Linked DNA regions of Homo sapiens: regions 1 and 3 are each linked to region 2. The links are contacts of gene promoters, found by promoter capture Hi-C in blood cells and fetal thymus (Javierre and others, 2016). All regions are on one chromosome and are shown on one strand. The core of a region is centred on a gene start or on the middle of the fragment in contact, and the rest is flanking DNA. Distances in the headings are between cores, read along the strand shown. Region 1 overlaps LRRFIP1 (LRR binding FLII interacting protein 1). Region 2 holds the start of HES6 (hes family bHLH transcription factor 6). Region 3 overlaps LRRFIP1 (LRR binding FLII interacting protein 1).

Region 1 (2,965 bases), core at 319-2,818, 580 kb before region 2:
CCCTCTCCTCCTTAGAGCACAAGCCCTCTGATGCTCCCAGACAGTGGAAACTTTTTGTTCCCCAAAGCCCTCCAGCTGGCCGGGCTGCCCTCCCCAGACTCCCTCCTTCCTTCCAGATGTGAGCAAATCCCTTTCCTTCCACCTCGCTCTCGGCCCCTGGTTCACCTTCTGTTCCTGCCCAGGGCAAACTGCCCTATGTGCATCTCTGTCCTCATCCATGAAACCATCCTTGTCCTCACTGTCGATGGAATTTTTCAGTGATACCTAACATCTGTCCCAGAGCCATGCACGTTCCGAAAGCACATTCCAGGGGGACAGTTGTGTCCCTGGTGCAACACGGGAGTGGGCACACATTCTCTGTGCTGTGCATGGGGACAGCTCCAGGAAGAGAGAGGGCACTGTTTTCCTGTTTCCTGAGTCAATCCGCTGTAGTTCTGTGGCCCAGCTGAGTGGCATAGGCTCTCCTGACCCAGGTACCTATCAGCCCCCAAAATAGGTGTTGCCATGATTCCTTTGGACAAAATGTAAAATCTGGCTGAAGACTGAGTCCTCGTGCACCTAGCGTGACCCATGACAGCATGCAGGTGTTGGTCTGTAGGGATGCCATAACAAAGTGCCACAAACTGGGTGACTTAAAATAACAGAACTGTATTCTCTCACAGTTCCGGAGACCGGAAGTCCAAAGTCGAGGTATTGGGCCAGGTGGGTTCCTTCTGGAGGCTCTGAGGGGAAGGTGTTCCAGGCGTCTCTCCAGCTTCTGGTGCTGCTGGCAGCCCTCGGCCCTCTGGCTTGTAGACACATCACACCAGGCTCTGCCTCCGTCTCCACGTGGCCCCCTCCCTGGGTATTTGTGTCTCTGTGTGCAAATTTCTGTTTCCTTATAAGAAAGTCATTGAATGAGGGCCCACCCTAATCTAGTACGACCTCATCTTAACTTGATTGTACACGCAAAAAGCCTATGTCCAAATAAGGCCCCATCCACGGGTTCTGGGTGGACATGAACTTTTGGGGGATGTTACTGAACGCAGTGCAGGGTTCTTACATTCTCACCATCACGTATATGATTTTATTCTTCAGGGTGCTAAGGTGTGGTGTGTGCCATGTGCTCTTAACCCCTTAGAAAAGATAAGGACAATTTTTTTTTCAGGTCCAATGTCTGAATGTATTTTTTTTCTTTCTCTTAGGATTTGAAGATATATAACAATATGTCATAAACTGACCTGAAATCCTTGTTTGTTCCGCAGCGAAATCCATTAATAATCCCTATAACTGGGACAGTTTTATGTTCCCATTCTCGGTGTGGCTATTTATAGTGAAACCTCACTTTCCCTGTGTTGGTTAACATTAAAAACTGGAACTGCTTCTGAGGTAGGAGGCGGGACTTGACTCCAGAGGCGGGGCTTGGACACTGGGCCAGATTGAGGACTAGCTAAAACAGGCCCGGTGGGGAAAGCAGTCTTCAATCAGACACGCCCACCAGCGCTATGTCAATTTACCGTTGCCATGACGGCACCCAGGCATTACCGCTCCTTTCCACGGCAATGACCCAGTGATTACTACCTCTTCCTTGCATAAACCGCTCCTTAATCTGCATGCAATTACAAGTGAGTATAAACAGGACTGCAAAACTGCCCTGAGGTGCTGCTCTCTGCCTGCGGGGTAGCCCTGCCCTGCGGGAGCCGGCAGGGAGCTGGAACACTGACACTTCAGTAAAGCTGTTTTCTTCTACCTATGACTTGCCCTTGAATTCTTTCCTGAGCAAGGCCAAGAACCCAGATGGGCTAAGCTCCACTTTAGGGCTCGCCTGCCCTGCATCAGTTTAACTAAACTATTAGAATTTTTAGTTTAAAAGAAATGAGTAAGATTGTGAGCATTCTGTGAGATGCGGAGTGAAAGAAGGTGCTGTAGTCTGAACGTTTGTGTCTCCCCTAAATTCATGTATAGAAATCCTAACCACCAAGCTGACTGTATTAGGAGGTGGGAGCTTTTAGGAGGTGATTAGGGCATGAGAGTAAATGAGATTAGTGCCCTTATAAAACAAACCCGGGGAGTTCTTTCCCCCCCCATCCCGCCATGTGAGGACACAATGGGAAGGGGGCCCTCACCCCTTCTATGAACAAGAAAGGGGGCCCTCCCCAGACACTGAATCTGCTGGCACCTTGATCTTGGGCTTCACAGCCTCTGGAACTGGGGGAAGTTAATTTCTGTTGTTTATAAGCCACCTAGTCTATGCCCTTCTGCTACAGCAGCCTAAACAGCTCAGCCTTAATGGACGAGGCACATGGAATGACTTCCGGGCCTCTGACAGGGTGCTTGGGGAGGATGGTGTGATGTTGCGTTATCACTCACAGACACTGTGGAACTGACTGGGTTGGTGGAGCGGGGACCCGGGGAAGAGTTCAGTTCTGTTCTGGGAATGTTGCCTTGAGGCAGCTGAGCACTACCCACAGGGAAAGGTCTGGCAAAGGTTCACGTGCATTCGCCTGGGCCATAGGGGAGAGGGGAGCCGTCAGCGGTCAGGGTGGTCAAAGCCACATAGTTGCATGAGGTCTCCTAAGTAGGTCAGTGGAGCAGAGTACCCAGGGTGGAGCCCCGGGAACCTCAGAAACAAGGAAGGGGTGAGCAGAGGAAGGGTCGCCCTCAGGGCACTGGGAGGGAGGAGCAGGGTGAAGGGTGGGGGCAGAGGGGAAACAGCCATGTCCATGCTGCAGAGAGACCCAAGGGAGACCCGGGGAAGAATGTCACTTGCACCTTGCAAAAGGGAGGGTCCTGGCGGCCTCAGCCAGAGCCGTTTTAGTGAAGTCATGGGGAGAAGGACCACAGAGGCTTAGTCCTGGCTGGGGCCGCAGTGGGACTGGCAGTGGAGAGGAGGGGGCCCAAGCCAGGGAGATTGAGTTCTTGGCAAAGAGGCCGGCGGCGTTCTCCACTGCGTTTCCATCCGCAGGTGCGCCTGCCGCCTGGCCTG
Region 2 (2,725 bases), core at 4-2,503:
GGAGGGCCGGGCCCACCCCCGCAGGACTCTGGCTGGCATTGGTCACCAAGGCCTCCAGACACTCCGGGCAATTTGGGCTGTGGTCAGGCTGCCCAGGGCTGCGGGCACCAAGTCGGGCCCCTCAGCAGGAGCCTGACTCAGTTCAGCCTCAGGGGCCTCCTCCAGGTCGGAGCACAGGTCGTCCCCAGGACCCGGGGGGCTGGGTATTGGGGATCCCGGAGCGCCCCCCGCAGGCCAGCCACTCCGTCCAGGGGCTCTAGGTGGCCCCGCCAGGGCGTCCCCCAGCAGATCCTGGAAGCTGCTGCCCTCACGCAGCGGCATGGACTCGAGCAGATGGTTCAGGAGCTCGGCAGCGACGGTAGCGTCGATGGCCTGGCACGTGGACACGAACGTGTGCACCTCGTGCATGCACTGGATGTAGCCGGCAGCGAAGCGCTCGCTCGCTTCCGCCTGCAGCTGCTCGCGCTCTGGGCCCGAGGGTGGGAGGGAGAGAGCCGCGTCCCGCGCGGTGAGCGGCGACTGCGTGGCCCAGCCCACCCGGCCCGCGGGGACGCGGCTCACCCAGGAGACGCGGGGGCGCACCCTGCTCCGGTGGGAGCCCTCGCCGCCGACAGGACAGGGGCGCCGGGAGGGAAGTCCTCCGTCTGGCAGGGGTTACAGGCGCCCGCGGCCGGCGCCCCCGCCCGCCCCGCCGCCACTCACCGCGCGCCCGGCCCCGCAGCACACCCTGGACCCGCCGCACCGTCAGCTCCAGCACTTCGGCGTTCTCCAGCTTGGCCTGCACCTGCGCGGGCGGGAAGGGCGGTGAGCCGGCAGCGCGCTCCCGGACCCGCCCGCCCGCCCCGCAGCCCCACGGCGCCTGCCCGGCCGCCGCACCTCGGCGCCCGCCAGCAGCAGCCGCAGCTCCTGCAGGCTCTCGTTGATCCGCGCGCGCCGCTTCTTCTCCACCAGGGGCTTCCGGGCCTGCGGGGAGCGGGGCACTGAATCCCAGCCCCGCACGGCCTCCCGCCCGCTTGCTCGCCCATGGCCCCGGCCCGCACCTTGCGGTCCCCTCGCGTCTCCCAGCCGTCCTCATCCTCACGGCCCACACGGTCCCGGCCAGGCGCCGCGGGTGGCGCCATGCCCGCTCCGCCGGGGACGCGGCAGGGGCTAGGAGCAGCGGGGACGGGGAGCGGCGGGGACCGGAGTGCCGGCGCCCTCCGCTGCCCCGCGGCCGCCCAGCAGCAGCCCAGCCGTCCGCGCTCCTCGCGGCTTCCGGCCCGCCGCGGTCCCGCCCCTTTTATAGCCGCTTATTTGCATCTCAATGCGCCGATTGGCCGCGCGGGCCCGGGGCGGCCGACCGCGAGGCGCGCTGCAGCCAATCGGGGCAGCGCGCTTTGTCCGGCCCAGCGGCTCTGGCGGTCGGGCAGCTGGCTGAGCTAGGCGGGGCCCCCAGCCCGGCCTTCCCTAGACCCCCGCGGGGGCGGCACCGGGGCGGCGACCCCGGGTAGCTGCGGCCCTGCCCGCGCTTGTTTCTCTCCGTCTGCTGCTCTAGGACCACTGATCTGCCGCGCGTGCGAGCAGGCGTCCACCCGTCCGTCCGTCCGTCCGTCCACTCATTCATTCACCCATTAATTCATTCATTTCCCTCCTTCGCCGATGGCGCCTCCAGAGTTGAGCGCTGGGGCCACTGGCCCCAGGAGATGCGTCCCTGGTGTGCAGAGCCACAGTCAAGTCCGCGGTCTCTGGACCTAGAGGGGTTTCAGGTCCCGGCTGGGGTGGCTGCCAAGCCCCGGGGAGGCAGGGTCCATTGGGCAGCGGTGGCGGGGCGGCCCCTGAGTTTCTTCCGGACTCGTCCAGACGCCGGGCCGGACCCCCGACGCCGCCCTCCGCCAGCACTGGAGTCCTAGTGGGGCGGGGTCCCGGGTGCTCCCGCCCGCGCCGCTCTCCCCCTGGGCTCTGCGGGTCACCAGCCCCGCCCCCCTCTGAGCTCCCCCATCTCCCTCTAGTCCCCTTTGGCCCCCGGGGCCCCCTCCCTCCCTTCCACTGCCCCCCGCCCGCCTCCCTCCTCCCCTCCTCGTCCTCCGCGCCCCGCCTCCCAGGCCCGCCGAAGCTGCCGTCTGGTCCTGTAACTTGATGCCCGTGACAGTTGGCAGCTGCGGCCGCTTCGGCGGAGAAAAGCGAGAAAAGCGGCGGCCGCGCCAAGAGCGACAGGTGTTGGCCGCGCCTTTGTCTCGCACCCTTTGTCCGGCGGGCAGGCGGCGGGCGCTTGTCCCGGCCAGACGCCCGCGACTCCCCCATCGCGGCGGGCCGCCCATCTGCTGGGTTCCTCTTGGCCGCGGGCGGGGTGCGTGGGCGGTGGGGCCGCGCCCTCGGGCAGCGTCCTGGGGACCCCTGCCCGGCTCCTGCCCCGGCGTCAGTCCAGACGCTGTGTGGAGGAGCCGGAACGGGAGACGCCTTCTCGGACCCCAGCCGGCCGACTACCAGCCTGCCCCGCACAGCACCTGCCTTCCTCAGTCCCCACTACTCACCCGGGCTGGGATCGTCAGGGTCTGTTCTGAGCCCCTCCAGGCTATAAGCGTCCCTGGACAAGGGCACAGTCTGACCTAGGACCCCCTGTCCACCTCCCCGCACCCCCAGCAGAGCCTGGCCTCACAGAAGCGCTGGTAGGTAGGGAAGGTGAGGGGTGGCCCTGGCAGGATGGGCTGGAAGGCCGCGTGGGAGGGGAACATCACGGGACCGCAGC
Region 3 (2,700 bases), core at 115-2,614, 540 kb before region 2:
AAGGAGTGATCTTGAAGCCCCAGAGGCCATAATGTTTAGATTACCAACCTCTTCACCAATCAGTAAGTCCATTACATCTCACTACGTGTTAGACATGGGACAGGAGAAGAGGATTTTTATTACCTCACTGTTATTACTGGAGGCCGCCCAAATTTGTTTTTTGTTTTTTTTTTTTAAATAAAGAAGCTTGTTTTCATGGAATGGACTTACTAGAACTTTTATTATTCAGACTACCTAGATAAAATTAAGTAAATTCGTTTCTTTCTCCCAAATTAAATATTTTGACTACATGCAAGATTTAATCATTCAAAATTGCCATGTATTTGATTATAGACCAGTAGTATAATCCCCCTGCCCCAGGCCAGATTCCAAAACAATAAACCAAAACACACACACACCTGGCAACAGAAATTATATGTATTCCGAGACTCATTCATTCATTTTGGAAAGGGCCAGTGTTTCCAGTGGTTTCTCCTTGGGATTGTAACTTTACAACTTTAAAACTAGGTAAGTAGTTTTCCCTTGAATCTAAAGTATAACTACTTTGTAGTAGAGAAGTAATTTATCTTAAATCACTATAATGAAGATTTACTCTTAATTTTAACCAAAATGTTTCATTTATTTGTGTAATGAAGATGATCAAAGCAACGCCACCTGTGATCCTTCTGTCTTTTTTACTGTATGTGGCACGTGGCTGTGTGATTTTCCTAGGGAAAGGAGTGGGCTTTCCCTGTGGGTTGAGAACCTCTGTCCCCCTCCTCTGAAGTTTCCCCAGTTTTTCCTGCTTCTCTGCTAGGTGGGTGCCTTAGCATGCTTGTCTTCTCATCGTGCTTCTAAACTTCTCTGAACCGGATTTATACTCTTAGGTCAGTAGCTGTCAAAGAAGACACTAAGTAGTGAAAGTAGCTAATATTTACCAAACCCCTGCTGCGCCCACCTGGTGTTTTATGTGAAGGTCTTCTCTAACCCTTGCTGTAACCTCATGGGGAGCAGATCGTTTTCTCTCAGTTTTTCAGATAAAGAGGAAACTGAGGCTCAGAAAGGTCAGGGACTTTCCAAGCCCTCACAGCTAGTCAGCAGTGGAGCCAGTTCAGACCCAGGCCTGCTGACTCGGAACTGGTACTGATAACTGTCACCACTGTATGCAATGCTGCAGGCAGGGGCTGGCAGGTAGTAAATGTGCAAGATATAGCTGTGGCTGCCACGGCTGCTGCTGCTGCTTTTGTCGCTGTTGTCAGCTTTTCTTGGCAGCCCTGCTGTCTCATACCCCAGTATTGGGGCTGAAGGATTTCTTTTTACCAAAGCTGCCTCTTAGGACAGAAGTCCTTGTCTTGAATGCATACTGGGAAGTCTTCACTCTGTCAAACTTTTCTGTTCTCTGCCTGGTAATTTCCAGACAGAAGAGAACATTCAAAGAACGAACTTACTTTCCTTCTTTTTTTTTATTGAGACAGTCGTGCTTGATTGCCCAGGCTGGAATGCAATGGCACAATCTCAGCTCACTGCAACCTCCGTTTCCCAGGTGCAACCGATTCTCCTGCCTCAGACCTCTGAAGCAGCTGGGACTACAGGTGCCTGCCACCTCACCCGGCTAATTTTTGTATTTTTAGTAGAGATGGGGTTTCACCACATTGGCCGGGGTGGTCTCAAACTCCTGACCTCAAGTGATCCTCCCATCTCGGCCTCCCAAAGTGCTGGGATTACAGGCATGAGCCACCACACCCGGCCCAATGAGCTTTACTTTTCTACATAAGGAAAATAATGGTAGAAATGAAATAGCTGTGAAACTTGTTTTGCTATTTTTGTACCATGCTAAAATGTTAACTACTGCTTATGTCGGCATACACCTGAGAGCTGCTGTGATTTAAGCCTTTTTATTTTTCTGGGTATGATGTAACTCCTCCCCTACCTCATCCAAGTAGATAAGTTCATGGAGGATAAACATGACAGCTGCTGTTTCTTTTATAGCTGGTTCCAGGGAATATCCACTGAATATAGGAAAGATTGTCAGTTGCTGTGTGCTGCCCTGGTGCTGGTGGAGCTTTCAGCCTTCTTCTCAGAGGAAACAATTTAAATGTTTTTGTGAAACCCTAGAGGTCTGGGGTTTGTAGGACAGTCTTGAGCAGAGCAGGCAAAGGTGAAGGGAGTGGAGCCCAGACGTGCTGCCTGGAGGGAAACCTGTCACCTGGAGAGGAAACGGCACAGGGGAGGCCCAGCCGCCCTCGCCTCTCAGTCCCGCACGTCTCTGTTAGTGGTAGTCATGGTTCTTGTATTTCCATCATGTTGAGGCAATTGAAGGAAATATGAAGATTCATTCATCTCAGGAAAAGCAAGAAATGTATTAACAGCAAGAGTAGAAGTTCACTTGCATGGAAGATACTGTATAGCGTATTTATTTCTTAGCGCCAGTGGGAGTAGCTGCTAAGCCCAAGATTGTGTTGTGAGGTTTGAATAGGTCAATGTGTGAGTCATCAATAAAGTAACATCAATCATTTTGTTCCCGATTAATACGTTTGCTATTTTAGGATGCGAAGGACTTTAAAGAAGCTTATTATTCTGAAAAGCAAAGCCTGGAGATTTCCAGTAGCAAAACAGACACAGTCTGTGGACAATCTCAGTGTACAAATAATTCACCTCTGGCATGAACCCAAAGAATTTCAGAGGGGAAGGAAGCTCTTAAAGATTACGTCCCCTCCTACT

Evidence for each region. The method cuts DNA at HindIII sites, captures the fragments that hold promoters and counts their contacts. A CHiCAGO score of 5 or more calls a contact.
Region 1: a contact is called between a fragment that was not itself captured here and the fragment with the promoter of HES6 in region 2, in 1 of 17 cell types (neutrophils). The highest score is 5.0, in neutrophils.
Region 3: a contact is called between a fragment that was not itself captured here and the fragment with the promoter of HES6 in region 2, in 3 of 17 cell types (fetal thymus, neutrophils and erythroblasts). The highest score is 6.3, in fetal thymus.

Annotation. Positions count from the first base shown.
Region 1 is chr2:237,661,372-237,664,336 of GRCh38, forward strand. The region is part of intron 1 of LRRFIP1 (LRR binding FLII interacting protein 1); the gene reads left to right. Among named protein-coding and RNA genes, the nearest start is that of LRRFIP1, 35 kb to the left of the region's middle. RefSeq lists enhancers at 1,312-1,853, 2,840-2,965. The HindIII fragment of the contact is 4,313 bases long and covers 1-2,965 here.
Region 2 is chr2:238,238,785-238,241,509 of GRCh38, forward strand. It overlaps HES6 (hes family bHLH transcription factor 6), which reads right to left and starts at 1,254. Exons shown (of 4, transcript NM_018645.6): 1 at 1,041-1,254; 2 at 877-963; 3 at 703-784; 4 at 1-467. The coding sequence starts at 1,121. The coding sequence ends at 43. RefSeq lists enhancers at 1-253, 2,154-2,659, 2,660-2,725 and a silencer at 977-1,496. The HindIII fragment of the contact is 3,888 bases long and covers 1-2,725 here.
Region 3 is chr2:237,695,595-237,698,294 of GRCh38, forward strand. All of the region lies in intron 1 of LRRFIP1 (LRR binding FLII interacting protein 1), which reads left to right. Among named protein-coding and RNA genes, the nearest start is that of LRRFIP1, 69 kb to the left of the region's middle. RefSeq lists an enhancer at 1,490-1,699. The HindIII fragment of the contact is 2,361 bases long and covers 185-2,545 here.